Regions from separate parts of the Homo sapiens genome. Here regions 2, 3 and 4 are each linked to region 1. The links are contacts of gene promoters, found by promoter capture Hi-C in blood cells and fetal thymus (Javierre and others, 2016). All regions are on one chromosome and are shown on one strand. The core of a region is centred on a gene start or on the middle of the fragment in contact, and the rest is flanking DNA. Distances in the headings are between cores, read along the strand shown.

Region 1 (2,650 bases), core at 100-2,599:
ACGCATGCCCTTGTTTCCATAATAAAGTCCCCTAAAAGACTGTTTGGTCTTTGAGGGTGGGGAAAGTGCCCGATGGGTGGTGGTAGGACTGCTTTCAGAAGGGCTGCTCGGTCCCCCAGACTGAGGGCCATTTTCAAACTCTCAACAAATGAAATAACCAGATAGAAAACTGCCACCATCAGTGGAGCCTTTCACTCTGCACTTCAGGAGGTCTGACAGGGTCACTAGTACTTCAAGATTCCCGTCCCTATTTCTGTCTTAAGCATGTTCGTTTTATACCCTGTTATGAGATGTTCTTTGATTCTTGGAAAAACAATTTCTTGGAAGCTGAAAAGAGTAAGGAGATGAATAGGAAATGGAGAGGTGAGTGCAGGGCACTTGTAAAAGCTACTATAAGATTGGTAAGTCCACCAAACCCAGGGAGATGGCCTTCCTAATGCCCACCCCCACCCCACTCCTGGTGCAGTCAGTGCTGACCTAGGGATCACCTGCCACAGGCTCATCCTAATGCCCACCCCCACCCCACTCCTGGTGCAGTCAGTGCTGACCTAGGGATCACCTGCCACAGGCTCAGGCTCCACCACCCAGCTCTCCCCCGTGGGGGACGGAGCGAGGGGTGCCGCCACAATAAGTTCCCACTTCCAGAAGCATGCTCTCTCCCCAGTGTTGCCCCCTGTTAGGTGAGCCAACTGAGTAGGAAAACGGTGTGGGCGAGGAGGGGGACCCAGTCGAGCCGCTCACGCTGGAAAGCAGCTCTCTGTCCTTCGACATTGGTGCGACCCTTCCCCAAGGAGCACACAAAAGGCGGCTGCTCCACGTTGTTTTCCAGCCCCTAGCCGCCTGGGCCCTGGGGGCTTGCGGGGTGGAGGGACGTGAGAGTTCTCCAGCCCTCCTGCGGGCACTGCAGCTCGGAGGCGGGAGAGGAGCACTAGGGCGGGAGAGGAGCACGCCCCACTCTTGGAGACATTTCATCACCCCTCTCTGTTCCCCCACCCCACCCCGCCCTCCCCACTCAAGCGGAAAAAAAGAAGCAGCCCAGATCTCCCCTCCCGGATGCGGCTGCACCAGCAACATCAGCTGCGGGCGGAGCCCGAGCGGTAGCCACTTCCCCCCTCTTCCCTCGTGACCCTCGCCCCCACCTCCAGTTCTCCCTCCCCCTCTACACACCCTTCCCCATCAGACACACCCTCCTGCTTCGGCTGGTGGCGATCGGAGCTCGGGCCCTCTAGGGGAGGGAGCTGCCGCCGCCGACGCCGTGGGGCAGGACAGTGAGCGGGCGAAGCGAGCGAGAAAAGGAGGGAAGGAGGGAACGAGGGAGGAGCAGCGGGTGGGAGGTGGGAGGGAGGAGCAGCGTGAGCCGCGCCGCCGCCGAGCTGCGATGTGGCCGGCCGGCCGGCGAGTAAACAGAGGGAGCAGCAGCGGCCGCGGCCGCCGCGGGCCGGGGCAGTGAGTCCACCCGCCCGCCGAGGTCCGCCCGCCCGCCGAGACCCGCCCGCCGCCGCTGCCATGGCCGAAGTGCGCAAATTCACCAAACGGCTCAGCAAGCCTGGCACGGCGGCTGAGCTCCGGCAGAGCGTGTCTGAGGCCGTGCGGGGCTCCGTGGTGCTGGTGAGTGGCCGGGGGACGGGGCATCCCGGGGGACGCGCTCCAGGCGGGAGCGACGCGGGAAGGGGCAGGAACGGCGCCAGTGCGGCCGCTTGGTGCGCCGCGCGCTGTCTTTCTCCGCTCCAGTAAGTTTTCGCACCGGCAGCCGCCGGCCGGGGTCCGAGTCCCAGGCGCCGGCTGACAGCTCTCCGGCCGCCCGGCACGGCGGAGGCGTGCGCCGGGATGGAAGCAGACGGGCAAAAGCCGGGCTCGGACGGCTGCGGAGGAGGCGGAGGCGGAGGCTCCCACCCAGGGTCGGGGCCGGGGGTGTGAGCTAAAGAGCTGACCTCGCGCTGCTCTGGACTCGGCACAAAGAGCCGGGGACAAGGGCACGACGAGATCCTGATCCCCTCCCGCGAGCACCTGAGGCCGCCTAGGCGGAAGGATGCGATGAGCGTTTGGCACACACACTCTCGCGCGCACACATACACACACTGTGTACACAAAAAAGAACCCCACCCAGAAAGCCCCGGGCGCCCAAGCTCGGGCTGGCGGTGAGAACAGAGGAAGCAGAGCGACTTCCTCCTGCAACTGGGGAGAGAGGGTGGTGATGGGTGTTGAAGGGGTGCTGCTGCGGAGGAAGGGCATTAGAAACAACGGGGTTCTGCGACAGAGTGGGCGCAGGGTCATCCACCGCAGGGAGAGTGTGTCCCTCGGGGACACGCGAGCGCTCCAGAGGCAAGGGGACCAAGGGGACGGTGCCGTGGGGATTTGGGGGAAGACTGGGTGTGTCAGTCCAGGGATGGAGGACCTGGGGTCAGAGCCCCACAGCTCAGGACTGGGGGATGGGGATTCGAAAGCGCGCTGACTCCCTGGGAACCCTCCCAGAGCACCCTCAGCCTTATCCAGATTGTCTGACTCTGGAGAAAGGCTAAAGGGTGCTAACGGGCACTTGCCCCTTCTCTTGTTTTCAAGACACTCGTTGCCAGTTTCCTGGACAAGCGAACAAACCCTGAATAAGCAATCGGACTGATTAATTAGTGTTTGTTTTGTTACTTTGTTTTTT
Region 2 (2,650 bases), core at 89-2,588, about 18 Mb after region 1:
GTTCTGTGCAGAATAACAAATGCTGAAAACAACTGAAATACATACTATCTAGTAGGAATATATTAATAACTCTCTTCCCCCAGCAGAAACAAAGTGATCATGCCTTAGTTTTAATAGATTAGTTTTGTGAAGGATTAAGTCAACTTTACTCTTCAAAGCTCACCCTTAATTTGAACTTAGTAACTGATAATTACAAAATATCCATCATTAAAAAGGGGGCCTAGGTAACTATCAAGTGGCACTCCTGGTTTACATAATCAAAGAAGAAAATTGGATGATTGCAAGAATTGCACGTAAATTTCCAAAGCAAATCTGTGGGACTGCTTCCTGACCAAATTCTAAATAGAGTTATATAACAAAGATTCAGTTCGAGGGTTGTTTGTCCTATCATGTCAAGTTGAAAGGATCAAAAAATCCTCCAGTGTCCAAATATTGTCCTATTTTTACTGCACTTAGAGTTGGTAGCAACAATTAATCGAAACAAAAGCATGGTGGTTTCAATCAAAACACTCAAAATTGAGCTAAGTCTGCATCACTCATCAAAACACACGTTTGATATAGAAATATAAGCCACCTTTGCCCCATAATTCTAAGACTCATCTCATAACTGTCACAAACTTAATCTTCACTCAACAAGACCAATTTAAAGAACAGTTACTAATAAATGAGCATCATTTCTGAAATCTGAAATGATTTGAGACAGGTTAGGGATAAAGCCACTGTTTGGATGGAAAAGTAATACTCCACACAGTTACAGAAGCTAGTGAGTGACACTTCCTGACTGCAACTTTGAGAGAAAAAAAAAATACACAAAACCTTTAAATCCCCACACTACCCAAATATCAAATGGCCTTTAAGGTTGTCTCTGAGAAGCCTCTTTTTAAAAGACACTGCTTTCATCAAATTCTTTTCTCATTCCAATTGCAGCAAATATCACTTTTATAGTTTGGACTCATAGCTTGGTCCCATAACACTTTACTAATTTGGTTCAAATTGATCAAAATGATCCCAAATGCTGAATTAAGTCTGCTTCATTGGCAACTCAACTACAATGAAGTGGCTCTTGTTTGAGATTTGTGTACATTATTAACAAATCTAAAGGATTATCATAATAATCATTAAGGTAAACCAGAGGCACTTCAGGAGGAGACTGGGAACACTCAGGCAGTGCACATAGATCCTGTAGATATTCAGTACATATTTGCAGATGGACAATGGGAAATGGAAAATTAAGAAATCAAACAAATCACTGAGTCTGGCAATTCAAGACTGACTCACATAATACCATCTATCTTAAATTCTAGCACATTCCCACAGAACTATTTGTAATAAGCTACGAAATTAACTTGTCAGAAGCATTTTATACCATAGGTAGCAAAATTACCTCTTTATAACCTAGTGCTGCTGATGGTCTAAGTGGAGGTGCAGGTCGTAGACAACTTAAACTCCACGGTTTTATAATTTGAGGAGGCTCCAAGGGTCCTCGGGGCTGTCCGGTAGAGCTAAAAGACTGGGAAAATGTCTGATGAGATGTTGGCAATCTGCCATCTGAACCCGACCTTGTGCCACACAGTGAGAGAACAACAATAGCTTCATTGGATTAGCAAAGACAGCCATAGAAAGGGATAGATGGAAAAACAAAAGTCTCTAGTTTGAGAACTGGTTCTTTCCAGTCCAGATTATCGGGTCTCTAAGAAACAGCACAAAATTGACTCAACATTCCATGATCCTGTCCTCTCTTTCTCATCTGGAATTTAATTAATTTAATTTTCTTTCCTCTGTAAGGAAGGAAAATGGAGTAGCAGTCAACATTTGAGTTCAGTGATATGTTTGGCACTCTAGTAGGTGCTTAAATAGGTTATTTCATGAGAACAGCCTAAGACATAGACTCAGTCAAGGGAAGCAACTAACTAGTAATTGGCAAAGCCAAGATTTGAACCCAGATCTGAAGCCAAAGTCCATATTCTTCCAACCACAACACACAGTCCTCAAAACTGGAATTTTGGCATCATAGGTTTGTATGTTAACAAACAACACAGCATATCTTCCATCTCACTCAGCAAGTACAGTAAAATCTCATCAATTCAAATTCCAATGTCTAAATTTGTGATAACTCAGAAGGAGATAATGCTAAAAGTTTACCTTTGAAGAAGGTTACTGAGCAAATGTGAGAGCATGAGTGAGATGACATGGAGATGTTTAAGTACTTAGGGAGGTAAACTATTTGTTTCGACTTAGCCCACTGTTAGTAGGAGAATAACCATTGCTCATGGAAATAAGCCTTGCTTATCATTAAAATATTTTAGCAGGACTTCTGGTTAGAAATACTTTGCTAGCAGTTAGTTGGGGTATCTGAATACTGTCAAACAGAACTGCACACTCTAAGTAAACCTTTTCATTAATTTGGATGGGCCTCATAATGAGAAATCAGAATGAGTGAGGTTTAACTGTACTTCAAAATCTACAAATATAGGCTGCCCAAAAGACTAAGGGTGTGCTCGCTGCTTCTTGTAAGTCTCCAGCAGGCAGGAGTTGACGAAAGACTCAATAATCTCTGGACAGAACACATGGACTACTTACAGAATGAGCACTACATGATGACGATGAGGTTTTGGATAATGAACTGCAAGAGGCAGGTCCTCTGATCAGT
Region 3 (2,650 bases), core at 110-2,609, about 14 Mb after region 1:
AGTCAGAGGGACCTGCGTCTGAATTCCCAGCTGTACCACTTCTTAATTGCGTGACATTTCGGTCAAATTATTTAACCTGGTTGAGCCTTTTTCTTCATCTGTAAAATGAGGGGAAATCAATAAGACTCCAGAAGGCCCTTGTACAGGTTCAGTAAGGTATTAATAACACATAGAAAGCACTTAGCAGTCCCTGGCACAATGAAAATAATATCCATTAATAATAACGATATTGATAAGAATTATATACTATTCTCTGAAAAAGATTTAAAAGGAAGAAGAGAAACTATCTTTTACCACTAGAGGCCCCCCACCGTGTGGTGCGTAGAGACCCATAACAAATTTCAAGGTAAGGAACTTCATCTTCATTTTAAACTGGCACTCGACTATTACTTTTTTAAAAAGTAATTAACCCCTTACGTGTTCCCAAAGGTGCCTTCATAATGAAATTCCTGTTACTATTATTACCAGTGTTACTGTCGCTACTGTTAGAGTACTCTCAAAAGAGCCTGTCTCCCTCTCCTGGAGTAGAACTTAAAATGGGGCGGAGGCAGGGAGTTACCAAAACCACTGCAGTGTATGCTGATTTCAATAACCTGTACTGCTAACGATCCAATCTCATTTCCCAAGCCTCTACTATCCTCATTAATTTTTCTGCCGATGTACCATCTGTTTTCCAATTTCCCTCTGCCTTACACGTGCAGAACTTGTGGTAGAGAGAAGCCCTAGTTTGGCCGTTCTGCAAGGGATAGCCCAGGAGGTAGGGGGAACCTTAAGTTGAAGTCACCTGAAGCATGTTTGGGGTCAGGGAACTCGGAAAGCAAGAGTGTGGCCACAGATCTGCCCAGAGGCGCGACCCCCAGCTGAGGAGACCAGATGGCGGGAAAAAGCGGGGGTCCACCGACTCCGCGGCTATCTGTAATCCTACCCTTGGCCAGGCCGGGGAGCCAAGAAAGACTTCCAACACTCCCCAAGTTTCAGCTCAAGTCGTCTCCGAGGCTGCGTGTGCCCCAGCCTCGCACGCCTCCCTGCAACGTGGCCGCATCTGGGGCGCCCTCATACCCTCAGGGTTTCCCAAACTCTTCCATTCTCTTCCCAGGCCCAGCCATGTCCCAGGTCTCCGGGTCCCCGGGTTCTCCTCTCCGCGTGCCGGGAGAGTCTCCAGCTTCTCAGACTCCAGCAACCCCAGCCAAACCTCTTCGCTGCCTGGAGCCTTGGCTCCCGCGACACCGCCCGGCTGCGGGGCGGGGGCAGGGCCAACGGCGGAACCGCCCCCAACCGCCTCCCAGGCCAGGCGAGCAGGCGGGTGGCTGGGGCGCCTCCACCTCCTCTTCCTAAAGCGGCGAGGCGCAGAGGAGCGGCATCACTCGAGCCCAGGTCCCAGCCACCACCACTCACAGCGCTCGGCGTTCAGGAAGAGGAGCAGCAGCGGAGGCGGCTGCTTCAGCGGCGGGCGGGCGCCAGAAAGGTAGACTGAGTCCCAGGGAGCTGCGCCGCTAACAGCCCACCTCCTAGCCCCGGGCTACGCGCCGCCAGCCCAGTAACCCCACTTTTGTGTGTCCTCCCAGGCCCCGATCGAAAAGCCTGGGAGGGCCGCCGAACTACCCCCGGAGGGAGGAGCCAGTCCGAACCCAAGGCGCCACCGCCGCAGAAGCGGAGCGAGGCAGCATTCGCCTCCATGGCCCACTCGCCGGTGGCTGTCCAAGTGCCTGGGATGCAGGTGAGGAAGCGCAGGCCGCCCCCGCCGCCCACGTGACTGCTTGGGAGCCCGGTGCGCCCTCGGTGCTGGGCACCGGCGACAAGGGACGGCCCCAGGGCTCCCCTGAGGGCAGGGCCGGTCACTATGGCCAGGTGACCTGGGAGTAGGGCTGGAGGTGTTTCCTGGTGTGTAGGCTAGGTAGTGCTCTTCGCTGGGAAGGCGAGGCGGGACTGGAGCGCGCAACTAGGTGGAGATTGAGGGCGGTTGGGGGTATAAAAATAGGCCAGAGCCACAGACACCTGCGCCTGCTGAGCTTGGCACGGTTGGGGATGGGGGGGCGGAACTTAACCTGGGAGAGATGGAAGTGCCTTGGAATTTGTGGGGTATAACGCGAGTAGTGAGTGCCCTACACCCCCCACCCCAAACACACACTCAAGTTGGGGCGGGGCAACACCAGGGGTGGCGGCGGCGGCGGCTTGAATTGGGCTCTTCCTGTGTGCGTAGGGCTAAGAGAGAGGTGACCTCTTTCTCCCTTTCGGTACTGCTGCTTAAGGGCAAAGTTGTAGCTTGCTCCCCGACCTAGCCCAGCCCATAGTGTGGCGTGAGAAATGCTGGTTCTGTTCAGAGTCACTGAGGTGATGACTTCTCAGCCCCCTCCGTGCCTTTCCCACAAGATGACTGTTACATGTGGTTAAAGGAAGCTTTTTGTCTTGGACAAGGGACTACTGCATGGGACCCAACTTGTTACTCGAAGTCTACCCAGCCCAACCCCCTCCCATTATATTTTCATTTTATTAAAGATAAGCTATGTCAGAAAACTTTTTATGCTGTTATGTTTTTAAATCGGTGCATTTTAGGCTATCTGCTAAGTGTTATCCAAATTTACTAACTTTTTAAAGCATTCATGTTCTATTTTTTTTTCCTTTGCTAGATGGCCTAAACAACCCATTTAGG
Region 4 (2,650 bases), core at 89-2,588, about 11 Mb after region 1:
ATTTCACAAGTACCACAGAATTGAAAGCCTTAAAAATGTGCATACCTTTGACCCCAGCAATTCCTCTTCTGGATATTTCCCCTACAGAAAAAAAACTATGGATGTGAATATTTACCATAAGTATGTTCAATGAATAATTTAAAAATTTAAGCCAACCCAAGTTCATCAGCAAGGGCTTGGTGAAATAAGCACGGCACATCCACACAATGGGATGTTCCACAGCCGTTATAAATTACGTAGTTGAAGACTATTTCATAGCATGAGACAATCTTGATACTGTGTTCAGCTGGACGTAGTGGCTCACGCCTGTAATCCCAGCACTTTGGGAGGATGAGGCAAAGAGGTCACTTGAGACCAGGAGTTCAAGACCAGCCTGGGCAACATGGTGAAACCCTGTCTCTACAAAAAATACAAAAATTAACCAGGGTGGTGGTACGCACCTATAGTCCCAGCTACTTGGGAGGCAGAGGCACAAGAATTGCTTGAACTCAGGAGGTGGAGGTTGCAGTGAGCCGAGATCACGCCACTGCACTCCAGCCTGGGAGACAGAGTGAGAGACTCCATCTCGAAAAAAAAACAAAAAAGATACTGTGTTTAGTGTGAAAAGCAGACACCAATAGTGTGAATTATGACCTTTTTTAATTAAAAAATTTTAAACAGCTTTATTGAGGTATAATGGAGCTACAATAAACTGCACATATTTGAAGTATACAATTTGATACGTTTTGACATGTGTATTCCCCCATGAAATCATCACCACAGTCAAGATAGTGAACATATTCATCACTCCTAAAAGCTTCCTGTTACCCTGTGTGATGTCTCCCTTCCCTTCTCTCCCCTCCCCTTCTCCCCAAACCAATTATCTGTTTTCTGAGCAGTATGATTTTTGTAAAAAGAAAAAAAATGTTTATAGACAGAGAGTAGATAGATGCTTAAAACAGTGTAGAGGACAATGATGGGAAATTTTGAAATTTTTTTTGTTTATGTGTTTGTGAAATTGTATGACAAATACAAGTTGCTTTTGTAATACCAAGAAGTTATTAAAGTTATTAAAATCTGCCACAGACAACCCACAAATTGAATATACTGCATAGGTGTTTGATAAATGCCTGTTGGATACTTGCTAGAGGTGTGGAGTTGGCTGTAAGTGCTTTTCAGCTGTGGTGGTGATAAATATACTCATGATGGCTGAGGGGTACTGACTGGAGGGGTGACTGCTCTAGTGATGATGGCTTTAGGTGTACTGATGGCTGTAGGAGTGATGGCTGCAGGGCTGATGGCTGCACGGATGTGATGATGGTTGTAGGAGAGATGACTGTAGGGACGATGGTTATAGGGGTGAGAGGGTCATGAGTGCGGTTGGCTGTAATGTCCAGAAGGGTGACAGCTGTAAGGATGATGGCTGGAAGGGTGATAGCAGCAATGGTGATGACTGTAGAGGTGATGGCTGAAGGATGTCAACTGTAGAGGTGATTACCATAGTGACAATGGCTATAGGTGTGCTGATGGCAGCGGGGATGGCTGCAGGCCTGATGGCTGTAGGGGTGATGGCTGTATGGTGATGGCTATTGATAGGAGTGATGGTAGCAGTGGTGATGGTCACAGGGGTGATGGTAGTGGTAGTGATGGCAGTGACGACCTTGAAGACGTGAGTTGACCGGGAGCATTGATCCAACAGGCAGCCAGATGGTCCAACTTCTGGTTTCTGGATTCTGGTCAGTGAGATAAAGGGCTTGGGTACGCCATATAATGTCGAGCTGATTGTCCACCTCTAGGAAGATGGAGCAGAAGGACTGATGATGATCGACATGAGACAACAAGGTAGGGACTTTCTCTGACTGTTCAACCCAAGAGCCGTCTGCATCAGAATCTCTGGAGACTGAAGCTTGGACTTCCTTCCTCCCTAGGGGCCGGCAGGGGCTGCGATTGCTGTAAGAGTAGGTCACGTGGCAGGGCTTCCTGTATGCTGCTGCTGCCGGGTGTCCATGGCCCGCACCCCCAAGCTGCCACTGCAGCAGTCAGAGTGGCAGCTGAAGGCTCGGTTCATGCCGTGCCCCCGGGCAGTTCTGGTGAGGCTAAGCAAGAGGCCTCTGCATCTTGACACCTAGGAGAGCAGGGACGGAGTCTCCCAGGGTGGAGGACCATGCTGCGCCGCAAGCCCTCCAATGCCAGTGAGAAGGAGCCCACTCAGAAGAAAAAGGTGAGGAGCATTTTGGGAACTCACATCTTCCTTTCCTCTGCTTGCTCGACCCATCCCTTCCAAGACTCTTGGAAGTGGGAAGAGCCAAAGGCCATATGTTGAGTCTGTAGGTGAGGGCCACTCACCTAGAAGGCAACGGGACAGGGACCCAAAGGTTAACAGAAGTACAGAAGAGATGTTTAAAATTCTGGAGCAACAGAGTTACAGAATAGATCCTTAGAAATCTAGAGTCATGCAATTCAACCCTAGAAGAATGGGAAAAAAGATCTAAAATTAGGGGCCAGAATCTTAGACTAGAATTTGAGAATAACAAAATACAATGCTTAAGCTGAACCCTAAGCTTGTACTTAACTATCTCTCCTCTACGCTGGTCCTGCTGCCACTTCTGCCCCGGCCACGGCCTCTCAGGAGCCATCTCACTCAAAGGGCCCTGCTGGGCTGCCCAGCTTG

Evidence for each region. Contacts are between HindIII fragments. The CHiCAGO score rates a contact against its expected background, and 5 or more counts as called.
Region 2: a fragment that was not itself captured here is called in contact with the fragment with the promoter of DOCK11 in region 1 in 1 of 17 cell types (non-activated CD4 T cells); the score reaches 6.6 in non-activated CD4 T cells.
Region 3: the fragment with the promoter of STK26 here is called in contact with the fragment with the promoter of DOCK11 in region 1 in 1 of 17 cell types (activated CD4 T cells); the score reaches 13.4 in activated CD4 T cells.
Region 4: a fragment that was not itself captured here is called in contact with the fragment with the promoter of DOCK11 in region 1 in 1 of 17 cell types (activated CD4 T cells); the score reaches 5.7 in activated CD4 T cells.

Annotation. Positions count from the first base shown.
Region 1 is chrX:118,494,466-118,497,115 of GRCh38, forward strand. It overlaps DOCK11 (dedicator of cytokinesis 11), which reads left to right and starts at 1,350. Exons shown (of 53, transcript NM_144658.4): 1 at 1,350-1,608. The coding sequence starts at 1,507. RefSeq lists enhancers at 688-757, 1,160-2,138 and silencers at 1,168-1,307, 1,418-1,497, 1,588-1,647, 1,818-1,877. The HindIII fragment of the contact is 5,195 bases long and covers 1-2,650 here.
Region 2 is chrX:136,678,151-136,680,800 of GRCh38, forward strand. ARHGEF6 (Rac/Cdc42 guanine nucleotide exchange factor 6) reads right to left here. Exons shown (of 22, transcript NM_004840.3): 15 at 2,581-2,650; 16 at 1,385-1,510. Among named protein-coding and RNA genes, the nearest start is that of CD40LG, 31 kb to the left of the region's middle. The HindIII fragment of the contact is 3,252 bases long and covers 1-2,650 here.
Region 3 is chrX:132,021,943-132,024,592 of GRCh38, forward strand. It overlaps STK26 (serine/threonine kinase 26), which reads left to right and starts at 1,360. Exons shown (of 12, transcript NM_016542.4): 1 at 1,360-1,465; 2 at 1,566-1,717. The coding sequence starts at 1,676. RefSeq lists enhancers at 908-1,454, 942-991, 1,442-1,601, 1,455-2,002, 1,972-2,041 and a silencer at 1,152-1,401. The HindIII fragment of the contact is 2,994 bases long and covers 1-2,395 here.
Region 4 is chrX:129,777,955-129,780,604 of GRCh38, forward strand. It overlaps SASH3 (SAM and SH3 domain containing 3), which reads left to right and starts at 1,995. Exons shown (of 8, transcript NM_018990.4): 1 at 1,995-2,200. The coding sequence starts at 2,144. It overlaps LOC124905215 (a long non-coding RNA gene), which reads right to left. Exons shown (of 2, transcript XR_007068328.1): 2 at 621-2,325. RefSeq lists enhancers at 1,746-1,905, 2,156-2,235, 2,286-2,345. The HindIII fragment of the contact is 1,089 bases long and covers 795-1,883 here.